Regions from separate parts of the Homo sapiens genome. Here all the other regions are linked to region 4. Evidence: promoter capture Hi-C in human tissues and cell types (Jung and others, 2019). All regions are on one chromosome and are shown on one strand. The core of a region is centred on a gene start or on the middle of the fragment in contact, and the rest is flanking DNA. Distances in the headings are between cores, read along the strand shown. Region 1 overlaps SPTAN1 (spectrin alpha, non-erythrocytic 1). Region 2 has its middle 1.8 kb from the start of SET. Region 3 overlaps DYNC2I2 (dynein 2 intermediate chain 2). Region 4 holds the start of ENDOG (endonuclease G).

Region 1 (2,874 bases), core at 321-2,820, 210 kb before region 4:
TGTGAGAAACTGGATCAAATGTATGCCCAGGCCTAGGGCTTCAAGGGTTAATCCTAAAGAAAGGCTTTTTCTTTTTTTTCTTTTTTTTTTAGAGACAGGGTTGCACCACATTGCCCAAACTGATCTTGAATTCCTGAGCTCAAGCGATCCTCCTGCCTCAGCCTCCCAAAGTGCTGGGATTACAGGCATGAGCCACCACGCCTGGCCAACAAAAGCTTTTTCATTTGAAGCTATCAAAGACTTAATTGTAGCTAGAACTTGTTATTCTGGAGGGTGAAAAGATCTTAATTATAAGCCTACTGACTTTTCCTCTGAGAAATTCGGACTTTTAAAAAAATAACAAGAAGTTTTTTAACACTTTGCCCAAAGACCTAGCCTCATTCAGTAGATCAGATTAACCCAAGATAACTTTCTGAGGCAAGAATTATGTCATTCTCTGTTTTCCTGGGCAGAAGATCTCCTTACCAGGTAATATAATAGCTATTTTTCTGGGGTGCTGGTTTCCAGGGACCTCATGTCTTGGATCAATGGAATACGGGGGTTGGTGTCCTCAGATGAGCTAGCCAAGGATGTCACCGGAGCTGAGGCATTGCTGGAGCGACACCAGGTGGGTGGACCTGCCTGCTGAGTAGCAAAGACGTGGCTGCTCTGCAGGGCCCTAGAGGCCTCATTCCCACCCTTTGTGGTGAGTCGGTGGTTGACGTCAGAGTGGGCATCTGCTGCCAGTTACCTAATCCCTTCCCTCCTTTTGGCAGGAACACCGGACAGAAATCGATGCCAGGGCTGGCACTTTCCAGGCATTTGAGCAGTTTGGACAGCAGCTGTTGGCTCACGGACACTATGCCAGCCCTGAGATCAAGCAGAAACTTGATATTCTTGACCAGGAGCGTGCAGACCTGGAGAAGGCCTGGGTTCAGCGCAGGATGATGCTGGATCAGTGCCTTGAACTGCAGGTGTGTGTGCTCCTGGTTTCTGACCAAGTGTTTCCTTGCTGAAGGGCCTCATTTTCTCACCTGCCTCTTGCCCTCTTTAGCTGTTCCATCGGGACTGTGAGCAAGCTGAGAACTGGATGGCTGCCCGGGAGGCCTTCTTGAATACCGAAGACAAAGGAGACTCACTGGACAGCGTAGAGGCTCTGATCAAAAAACATGAAGACTTTGACAAAGCGATTAACGTCCAGGTGAGGCCTCTGGACCATGGAGTTGGAGTCTGGATTTTTCCTGATTGACATCTGTTTCTTGGCTTATATAGTCACTGTTATATCTCCAAGGAATACCTGCGTTGTCTAAGAAAAATATGTACATAAATAATCTTTAAAACTTTATAGATTCTGGTATTTCTGAGATTTTAATAATGGGGGTGCCACAGGAAAAAAAAATATTATCAAAGGGATGGAAAACAAATGTGTGGGTAGGTAAGGGAATAATGAACAAACAACAAGGAAGATGTAAAACTGTTTGATTTATACGTCACTTTGCTGTAAATCTGACAGCATTTTCCTATTATCAGGCTTAATTTTGTTCTGTTCTGATATTCTAACACCTGCCCCACCTGAGTGACCTGGAGACTTCTTGAGTTAAACTCTACTCTAGTAATGAATGAAATCAAGCTTTCTTTTGGCATTTTACACTCTTGCTTCTAAAGTGTCAGTGTATTCTGATCCTGCCACCAGCTAGTTCTCAGTCACCCAAAATAACTATCCTTTTCTCAAGACTGGCAGTCCAGGCAGGGCCCAGCCACAGGCCCACCTTGATCTCATGCCTTTGTTTTCTGACAGGAAGAGAAGATTGCTGCTCTGCAGGCCTTTGCCGACCAGCTCATCGCTGCCGGCCATTATGCCAAGGGAGACATTTCTAGCCGGCGCAATGAGGTCTTGGACAGGTGGGTGTCCTGTGGCACTGACATAGTCACCAGCCCTGAGAGGATGCATCCCCTCATACGAAGGCCCAGGCCTGTTCTGTCTCCCCACTTCCTTCTCCACGGTAAGATATGCTCATGTTGGATCTCATGGTTTCACTCTTTCAGGTGGCGACGTCTGAAAGCCCAGATGATTGAGAAAAGGTCAAAGCTAGGAGAATCTCAAACCCTCCAACAGTTCAGCCGGGATGTGGATGAGATTGAGGCTTGGATCAGTGAAAAATTGCAAACAGCGAGTGATGAGTCGTACAAGGATCCCACCAACATCCAGGTAAGCTGAAGTGACTGGGTGTTGGTCTTGATGTAGCCTTATGTTATTGAGTAGATTTTGTTAAATAAAGCATTTATAAAACAATCTCCTTGCACCCATGGGAAGTCAGTGAGAAATATTTCAGTAAGCCCAGCCAGTGGGAAAGCCCTAGTCAAGTTTCAGAGCCATTTAAAAGTTGCCTTCCTCATTTGTCTCCATTAAAACTATTTCTGCTGTAATAAAAGTCTATAGAATCCCCCTTCTATTACTGTTCCCAAATGCTGAGCTTCCTGGGGGAAGTATGACAAAATGAGTTTCTATTTAATAGCTGATATGTGTGTCCACATCAGTGTACTGAACTCTTGTTCTTTTAATCTGTTTTTGTAGCTTTCCAAGCTGCTGGTAAGTTTTTAATTTTTTTAAGAGTTGTAGTTAAATGAGCTCCAGTATTTGTGTTACTCTGCGTAGATTATTGTTATTATTGTGGTCACACGGTTTGCTGGTGTCTCTTCATCCATCCTTTTCATTTCTAATCATCCATTACACTCCATTCAAGTGTCCCTGTGGGATGTGGCTTTTTCTGTTGTAATTAGCCTGCAACGCCTTACTCCCCCTTCTCTCCCCCAGTTTATCACTTAGGCAAATTCTGTACAGTGTTTGATTTGCGGGGCAGTAATTGACCATTTTCTTTCAAGGAGTGCTTCCTT
Region 2 (2,936 bases), core at 103-2,602, 130 kb before region 4:
ACTCCGGAGGCGGAGGTTGCAATGAGCCGAGTTCGTGCCATTGCACTCCAGCCTGGGCGACAAGAACAACAACAACAACAACAAAAAAAAAAACAACCAGAGGGGCCAGGAGGAGAGGAGAGAGGCAAGGGAGGAATTCTGAGTGAGGGGAGAGGCCAAGAAGAGAGAATGCAGAGCTTCTGGTGTTGGAGACGGGGAGAGAGCAGAGTCCTAAGAGTGGGTGAATAACCTCTCAGTGTGCCCCCGGCTCGCCTGTGTTTACTCACACCCCTGGCCCTTTTGCTTTCTCTTTCTCTTCAACTTCCTAGTGTGCTCATATTTATCTTGAGAAGCACTGTGTGGGGAAGGGCAGGAAAAGAGGGGCAGGGAGGTGGCAGGGAGGGTTGGGAGGCCAGAAAGGGAACCTGAAAGCCCACTCCCCCATCAGAAGGCATTACAGGGTTCCCTGGGACCCCTGCAGGTGCTTGGGAAACAGGCAGATAAGGCACTTAGGAGACATTGTGGGTCAGGAGTGACCCTATGGGTCAGGCTTTGAGGATGGAAGCAGCCAGCCCTTGGCATAGTGTTCTCAGACAGACTCAGCCCAGGAGCGGGTCGTGAAATCAATTTGGTGGGGTGTGACCTGCATTTTAAATAGGAAATTAGAATCACATCACCCTTGGTAAGGGTAAGTTTTGGTTTGTGTGTGCTAGGTCATGATGTCAAAAGTACTTCTGACTGTTGGTCACATTAAAAAAACTGAGGCAGGGTGCGATGGCTAACTCTTGTAATCCCAGAGCTCTGGAAGGCTGAGGCTGAAGGATGGTTTGAGCTCAGGAGTTTGAGACCAGCCTGGGCAACATGGTGATACCTCCTCTCTACAAAAGATAAAAACAAAATTAGCCAGGCAAGGTGGCAGTGGTGCTTGCCTGTGGTCCCAGCTACTCAGAAGGCTGAGGTGTAAGAATCCCCAGAGCCCAGGAGGTCAAGGCTGCAGTGAGCCATGGTTCTGGGCGACAGAGAGAGACCCTGTCTCATAATAATAACAACAATAAAAATAGAAAAACTGTTTTAAGGTAAGGGCTTTGTCAATTGCTACTTGGTTTAGAATCTTGGTTCTGTCACTTGCAACAAAGTTTAGTTTATGCTAGGCACAGTGGGTGGCTCATGCCTGTAGTCCCAGCACTTTGGGAGGCCGAGGTGGGCAGATCACCTGAGGTCGGGAGTTCGAGACCAGCCTGGCCAACATGGTGAAACCCCGTCTCTACTAAAAAATACAAAAATTAGCTTGGCATGGTAGTGGGCGCCTGTAATCCCAGATACTCGGGAGGCTAAGACACTCACCGTGCACTGTCTTGAACATGAAAGATGCTGCTTGAGCTTTAAGAGCTGATAGTGGGCCGAGCTCAGTGGCTCATGCCTGTAATCTCAGCACTTTGGGAGGCAGAGGCAGGTGGATCACCTGAGGTCAGGAGTTTGAGACCAGTCTGGCCAACATGGTGAAAACCTGTCTCTACCAAAAAATACAAAAATTAGCAGGGCGTGGTGACTCACATCTGTAATCCTAGCAACTCAGGATGCTGAGGCAGGAGAATCACTTGAACCCGGGAGGCGGAGGTTGCAGTGAGCTGAGATGGCACCACTGCACTCCAGCCTGGAAGACAGAATGAGACTTGGTCCCCTCCCCCACCAAAAAAAAAAAAAAAAAAAAAGAGCCAATGGTAAAGTGTGAGTTCTGGAAGGCAGAATTCCAACCCCAAGTTCTGGTTAAAAATGTCCAAAGAGAGATTTCAGGTATTTTTTTGTTTTTGTTTTAGAGATAGGGTCTTGCTCTGTCACTCAGGCTTCAGTGCAGTGGCTGCATTGGGGCTCATTGAAGCCTGGAATTCCTGGGCCCAAGCGATCCTCCTGCCTTGGCCTCCCAAAGTGTTGGGATAACAGGAGTGAGCTATTGCATGGCCAGGATTTGAAATTGGCCAGCGTATCACTAAAATCAACAAATGGTACTGGCCGGGCGCAGTGGCTCCCGCCTGTAATCCCAGCACTTTGGGAGGACGAGGTGAGTGGATCACCCCAGGTCAGTAGACCAGCCTGGCCAAGGTGGTGAAACTCCATCTCTACTAAAAATACAAAAATTAGCCGGGCATGGTGGCACGTGCCTGTAGCCCCAGCTACTCGGGAGGCCGAGGCAGGAGAATTGCTTGAACCCGAGAGGCAGAGCTTGCAGTGAGCCAAGATTGCGCCACTGCACTCCAGCCTGGGGGACAGAGCAAGACTCCCGTCTCAAAACAAACAAACAAATGCTACTAATCAGGGTTTTTCTGGCTTTTTATGGTTCATGTCTTGGGGTGCTGGAGGGACAGAATGTGGGGCATCCGCATTACTTGAAAAGTATTATTTAAACAAAATGCTTTGGCCCTCCTTAGTGGTTCAGAACTTTGCCTCTCAAGTAGAACTTGTTGGCCCCTTTCATCTCTATGAACAGAACACCGCCTATCGCTTGGGGCTGTTGTGAGGCCTCGGTGAGATAACCGTGCCATGCGCTGCTGAAACTGGCACTTAACGCTCAGTATGATTCTTGCGGGCGCTGGGCACCGCGGACTAATGTGGTACCTCCCTGCCTTCACAGGACTTCGAGTTTAATGTGGCTTCAGTGTCGTAACCTTTATCATTTCATAACAGAAACGGGTTCAGAGAGGAAGGGTGACTTGCTCAAGGGTACAAGCTTGCTGGGCAGGGCTTGGACTAAAACCCAGGAATGGCCCTGCGCGCGGATTACACAGCCTGGGGCTTCGCACACGAGCCCGAGTTTGAGTCCGATCGGCAGTTCCCCATCTGGCATCCAGAATGGGGTGCCCCCTGCTTTCTCCACGAAGTGGAAGGCGCCGAGAGGCCGGGCGGAATTCGGGGCCCCCATACGAGGCCGGGCCTGCACTTTCGGGGTGGTGGGCGCCCCG
Region 3 (2,700 bases), core at 201-2,700, 180 kb before region 4:
GTCAGAGGGCTCCCTTTCTGAAGATGCGGAGGGCAGGCAGAACCACATCGGCTCACAGCAGCACCCTGGCAGACACATGGTCTGATGCCCATGAACACCCCAGCTTCACACCACCAGGCCCTCCCTCAACGGGCAGCCCTCCCAGCACCCGGGTAAGCAACAGCAGCTTCAGCATCCACTATGAGCTGCTAGGTGGGAGGCAGAGCACTGCCCCCAGAGGCCTTGCTCTCCACCCTGCCACCACGCCTACTATTCCTGGTCCCCTGCTTAGCTGTACCTGGCACAGGTACAAACATCAGAACAGGGCAGGAGAGGCCAGCCTCCCTTTCTTACAGACATGCCCAATCTTCACCAAACCAAGGCTCTCTGGGCGGAAGCAATCATGGTGATTGCTGCTATCTGTGAGGGGCTCTCCTCGGGTGGCTGCTCAAGGGACAATGACAAGGCCCTGGACTGCCACACTCCCTCCTTCCCATCTCATGCGGGATTCGAGCTGGGCCAGGAGGCAAGCCCGGAGGAAGAGGGCAGGACTCACCAGGACAGTTCTCTTCTGAACACACAGGCCTCAGCACTGGTACCCACCCTCACCTCCACAGGCCACTCAGTTCTCTCTGCTTGTCTGTGTCCTACTGAACCGCCAGCCCCCCAGCATAAGACTCTTGTCTGATCTTTGTATCCCCAGCACTTTGCATGGTATTTGGCACAAAGCAGATGTTCATTTATATACATACACACACACACACACACACACACACAAATGCCGGGCACGGTGGCTCACGCCTGTAATCCCAGAATTTTGGGAGGCCGAGGCGGGCGGATCACAAGATCAGGAGATCAAGACCATCCTGGCTAACACGGTGAAACCCAATCTGTACTAAAAATACAAAAAATTAGCTGGGCATAGTGGCGAGCATCTGTAGTCCCAGCTACTCGGGAGGCTGAGGCAGGAGAATGGCGTGAACCCAGGAGGCGGAGCTTGCAGTGAGCCAAGATCGTGCCACTACACTCCAGCCTGAGCGACAGAGCAAGACTCCGTCTCAAAAAAAAAAAAAAAAAAAATTAGCCGGGTGTGGTGGCGCGTGCCTGTAATCCTAGCTACTCAGAAGGCTGAGGCAGGAGAACTGCTTGAACCCGGGAGGCGGAGGTTGCACTGAGCCGAGATCATGCCACTGCACTCCAGCCTGGCCTATGGTAGGAGACTTTCTCAAAAAAAAAAAAAAAAAAAAAAAATTACTTATTGAGGCCGGGCGCAGTGGCTCACGCCTGTAATCCCAGCACTTTGGGAGGCCGAGGCGGGCGGATCACAAGGTCAGGAGATCGAGACCATCCTGGCTAATACGGTGAAACCCCGTCTCTACTAAAAATACAAAAAAATTAGCCGGGCATGGTCCTGGGTGCCTGTAGTCCCAGCTACTCGGGAAGGCGTGAACCTGGGAGGCAGAGCTTACAGTGAGCCGAGATTGTGCCACTGCACTCCAGCCCGGGTGACAGAGCGAGACTCCATTTCAAAAAAAAAAATTACTTATTGAGCATCTACTTGCCAGGCATTGTCTGGGTAATGAGGACACAGCAGAAAAGAAAATGTGCAAGATTCTTGTGCCCCAGGCGCTTACATAGGGGTGGGGAGAGATGAATAAACAAGAAAAAAACACCAAATCCACACAGCACTGAGCACATGCAGAGGCACGAGAAAGGAAGGAAACAGCAAGGGAGGCTGTCTGGATGGGATGGCGAGGGTGGCCTCTTAGGGAGATGGCGTTTGAGCTGAGATGTGAAGGACATGAAGGAGCCGGCCAAGTGGAAAGCTTCAGGAAGGAGTGTAGTGGGCCAGAATAAAATGTCGTGGAGGAAAATCCCCTGAGCGCCGTGGCTCACGCCTGTGATTCCAGCACTTTGGGAGGCTGAAGCAAGAGGATCACTTGAGTCTAGGAGTTTGAGACCAGCCTGGGCAACAGAGGGAAACTCTGTACCTACAAAACAATTAAAAATTTGCCAGAAGCCAGGCGCAGTGGCTCATGCCTGTAATCCCAGCACTCTGGGAGGCTGAGGCGGGTTGATCATGAGGTCAGGACTTCAAGACCAGCCTGGCCAAGATGGTGAAACCCCGTCTCTACTAAAAATACAAAAAAATTAGCCAGGTGCAGTGGCAGGCGCCTGTAATCCCAATTGCTCAGGAGGCTGAGGCAGGAGAATCGCTTGAACTTGGGGGGCGGAGGTTGCAGTGAGCCGAGATCGTGCCACTGCACTCCAGCCTGGGTGACAGAGTGAGACTCCATCTCAAAAAAAAAAAAAAAAATTGCCAGGCATGACGGCGCATCCTGTAGTCCCCAGCTACTCAGAAGGCTAAAGTGTGAAGATTGCTTGAGTCCAGGAAGTGGAGGCTGCAGTGAGCAGTTGATTGTGCCACTGCACTCCAGCCTGGGCAACAGAGCAAGTAAAGCCCAAGACGACGTGTTGGACTCTGGGAATCGTGGAAAGAAGGAAATCCAGGGTGACCCTGGGATCTGCACTGAGAACCTGTGGACGGGGCGTCCCCAGATGTGAGGTCACACTCAGGCAGAGAACACAGGGCAGTTCTGTGGGGCCTGCTTTGGACTCAGATGCCTCAGCCACCCACGGGGAGGCACCAAGTATTCCCGGGGGAGGTCACAAAGCTCTGGAGAGTTTCTGACCAGACATGTGACTTGAAGCCCCAGAGCT
Region 4 (2,820 bases), core at 179-2,678:
ACCTTATTTTCCTTAAAGGAAAAAAAAATGCTAAGAGTGGCTGGGTTGGGTGGCCCATGTCTATAACCCCAGCACTTTGGGAGGCCAAGGTGGGTGGATCACAAGGTCAGGAGTTAGTTCGAGACCAGCCTGGCCAACATGGTGAAACCCATTCTTTACTAAAAGTACAAAAATTAGCTGGGCGTGGTGGCGCGCGCCTGTAGTCCCAGCTACTCAGGAGGCCGAGGCACGAGAATCGCTTGAACCAAGGAGGCGGAGGTTGCAGTGAGCCTGGGCGACAGAGCGAGACTCCGTCTCAAAAAAAAAAAAAAATTAGCTGGGCCTGGTGGTGCGCGCCTGTAATCCCAGCTACTTCAGAGGCTGAGGCAGGAGAATCACTTGAACCTGGGAGGCAGAGGTTCCACTGCGCGGAGATCACGCCATTGCACTCCAGCCTGGGCAATAGAGTGAGACTCCGTCTCAAAAAATAAAAGTCCTTAACCAGTCCATATTTCTGAATATTTTGCTTATTCCTGCCGGCAGTGTAATACTCTGGTGAATATTTGCGTTCGAGATCCTTGCATTCCCGAGATTTCCCCAGCTCAGCCCTCTGCGTGGGTTGAACGGTATGAACCTTTTTAAGGCTTCGCTTGTACTGTACTGTCAAGCTGTTTTTTGGAATATTCGCCCCAGGTTTCTGTTCCAGCCAGCAGCCAGCATCAGCCGTCTGCATCCTTGTCCTCAAACTGCTGTTAATTAAAATCTTTGCCAATCTGGGCCGGGCGCGGTGGCTCACGCCTGTAATGCCAACACTTTGGGAGGCCGAGGCCGGCGGATCGCCTGAGGTCGGGAGTTTGAGACCAGCCTGACCAACATGGAGAAACCCTGTCTCTACTAAAGATACAAAATTAGCCGGGCGTGGTGGCGCATGCCTGTAATCCCAGCTACTTGGGAGGCTGAAGCAGGAGAATCGCTTGAACCTGTGAGGCGGAGGTTGCAGTGAGCCGAGATCACGCCATTGCACTCGAGTCTGGGCGACCAGAGCGAAACTCCGTCTCAAAAAAAAAAAAAAAAAAAAAGAAACCTTTGCCAATCTGGTAGAATTGCGGGGCTTATTTTATGGTGTCATGGAGGATAGCCTAGGGCCAGATATACCTGGGGCCCTGTGCCTGCTCTGCGAACTAGGAGCTCACTCTCCGAGCGGTGTAGAGGGTGAGACTAAGCAGTGACAGTAAAAGCTTTCGACAGTGCTTGACCCTTCCGCGGAGCGTATTAAGCAGGAGCTCCCTGCGCAGGCGCAGAGGAGAGAGTGTCTCCCACCCCACGACCAGCAGGGGGCCTGCGAGGCGGGTGCGGAGCCAGGCCTGATGGTGGCCAATCGCGAGCTGAGGCGACGATGCCACGCCCCTCATACCGGCGTCTTAAATGCGCAAAGAAAGGACGCCGGGGACACCCGGTTGGGCTCTGCTGCTCCCTTCTGGGTTCCGAGGCCCAAGCCCTTGGCAGTGTTTGTGAGTGGAAGGGAGGTCACGCTATCGTCCGCGGCCCCAGCAGCCCTGTGCCCTCGTTGGATCCCGCGACGCGGCTCCTTTAAGAGCCTCGCGGGTCGCCCGCCGCTAGGTCGCTCCCCGGCCATGCGGGCGCTGCGGGCCGGCCTGACCCTGGCGTCGGGCGCGGGGCTGGGTGCGGTCGTCGAGGGCTGGCGGCGGCGGCGGGAGGACGCGCGGGCGGCGCCGGGACTGCTGGGCCGGCTGCCCGTGCTGCCCGTGGCGGCGGCAGCCGAGTTGCCCCCTGTGCCCGGGGGACCCCGCGGCCCGGGCGAGCTGGCCAAGTACGGGCTGCCGGGGCTGGCGCAGCTCAAGAGCCGCGAGTCGTACGTGCTGTGCTACGACCCGCGCACCCGCGGCGCGCTCTGGGTGGTGGAGCAGCTGCGACCCGAGCGTCTCCGCGGCGACGGCGACCGGCGCGAGTGCGACTTCCGCGAGGACGACTCGGTGCACGCGTACCACCGTGCCACCAACGCCGACTACCGCGGCAGTGGCTTCGACCGCGGTCACCTGGCCGCCGCCGCCAACCACCGCTGGAGCCAGAAGGCCATGGACGACACGTTCTACCTGAGCAACGTCGCGCCCCAGGTAGCGCCCGCGCCCCGGGCCGGTCGCGGAATGCGGGGCCGGCGCCTGGCCTCGCGGGGCCTCGGTTTGTTCTTCTGCAGAACGGGGCAGCTGCCCAACGCGCCCCCGGTCAGGCATCGCAGTGACATCCCGTGGCGGGAGGGAGGAGCACTGGGCTCCAGGCACAGGGTCTGCAGGCCGACCAGGGCTTGAGCTTCAACTGCGAACCCTGGGCACCTCCCTGAGCGTCGCTTTCCTCGTCAAAAAAATGGGGATAATACCGTTATTCACCTTCCTCCTGCGGTAGTGATGAGGCGCTGAGGCTCACAGAGGCAAAGTGACGGGCACAGTGTCACACAGCAGAAGAAGGCTGTCTGTTGTAGAACCGCAGCGCCCAACCTATTGGGCACCAGGGTGCGGTTTCGTGGAAGACAGTTTTTCCACGGCTTGGTGGGTGAGGGCGGGTTTCAGGATAATTCAAGTGCGTTACATTTATGTACATTTTATTTCTATTATTATTACATTGTAACATATAGTGAAATATACAACTCACAGTAATGTAGGATCCGTGGGAGCCCTGAGCTTGTTTTCCTGCAACTAGACAGTCCTATCTGGAGGTGATGGGCAACAACGACAGATCAGGCATTAGGTTTTCAAAAGAAGCGCGCAACCTCCTCACATGCGCAGTTCACCATAGGGTTCCAGCTCCTATGACAATCTCCAGCCG

The links. Contacts are between HindIII fragments. The study calls those that stand out against the background at their distance.
Region 1: a fragment that was not itself captured here is called in contact with the fragment with the promoter of ENDOG in region 4 in 2 of the 25 tissues and cell types used here (IMR-90 fibroblasts and lymphoblastoid cells).
Region 2: a fragment that was not itself captured here is called in contact with the fragment with the promoter of ENDOG in region 4 in 1 of the 25 tissues and cell types used here (IMR-90 fibroblasts).
Region 3: a contact is called between a fragment that was not itself captured here and the fragment with the promoter of ENDOG in region 4, in 1 of the 25 tissues and cell types used here (heart left ventricle).

What each region holds. Positions count from the first base shown.
Region 1 is chr9:128,607,097-128,609,970 of GRCh38, forward strand. SPTAN1 (spectrin alpha, non-erythrocytic 1) reads left to right here. Exons shown (of 57, transcript NM_001130438.3): 32 at 508-607; 33 at 756-953; 34 at 1,034-1,180; 35 at 1,778-1,881; 36 at 2,026-2,188; 37 at 2,555-2,569. Among named protein-coding and RNA genes, the nearest start is that of DYNC2I2, 48 kb to the right of the region's middle. The HindIII fragment of the contact is 5,536 bases long and covers 1-2,874 here.
Region 2 is chr9:128,685,948-128,688,883 of GRCh38, forward strand. It overlaps a transcript of SET not described here. Among named protein-coding and RNA genes, the nearest start is that of SET, 1.8 kb to the right of the region's middle. RefSeq lists enhancers at 1-81, 122-221, 1,572-2,448 and a silencer at 2,735-2,936. The HindIII fragment of the contact is 6,109 bases long and covers 1-2,936 here.
Region 3 is chr9:128,641,248-128,643,947 of GRCh38, forward strand. The region is part of intron 1 of DYNC2I2 (dynein 2 intermediate chain 2); the gene reads right to left. Among named protein-coding and RNA genes, the nearest start is that of DYNC2I2, 14 kb to the right of the region's middle. RefSeq lists an enhancer at 1-215. The HindIII fragment of the contact is 3,394 bases long and covers 1-2,700 here.
Region 4 is chr9:128,817,072-128,819,891 of GRCh38, forward strand. It overlaps ENDOG (endonuclease G), which reads left to right and starts at 1,429. Exons shown (of 3, transcript NM_004435.2): 1 at 1,429-2,114. The coding sequence starts at 1,614. KYAT1-SPOUT1 (KYAT1-SPOUT1 readthrough) reads right to left here. Exons shown (of 25, transcript NR_182311.1): 25 at 2,580-2,820. SPOUT1 (SPOUT domain containing methyltransferase 1) reads right to left here. Exons shown (of 12, transcript NM_016390.4): 12 at 2,580-2,820. RefSeq lists a silencer at 1,663-1,722 and enhancers at 1,827-2,392, 2,343-2,432. The HindIII fragment of the contact is 9,516 bases long and covers 1-2,820 here.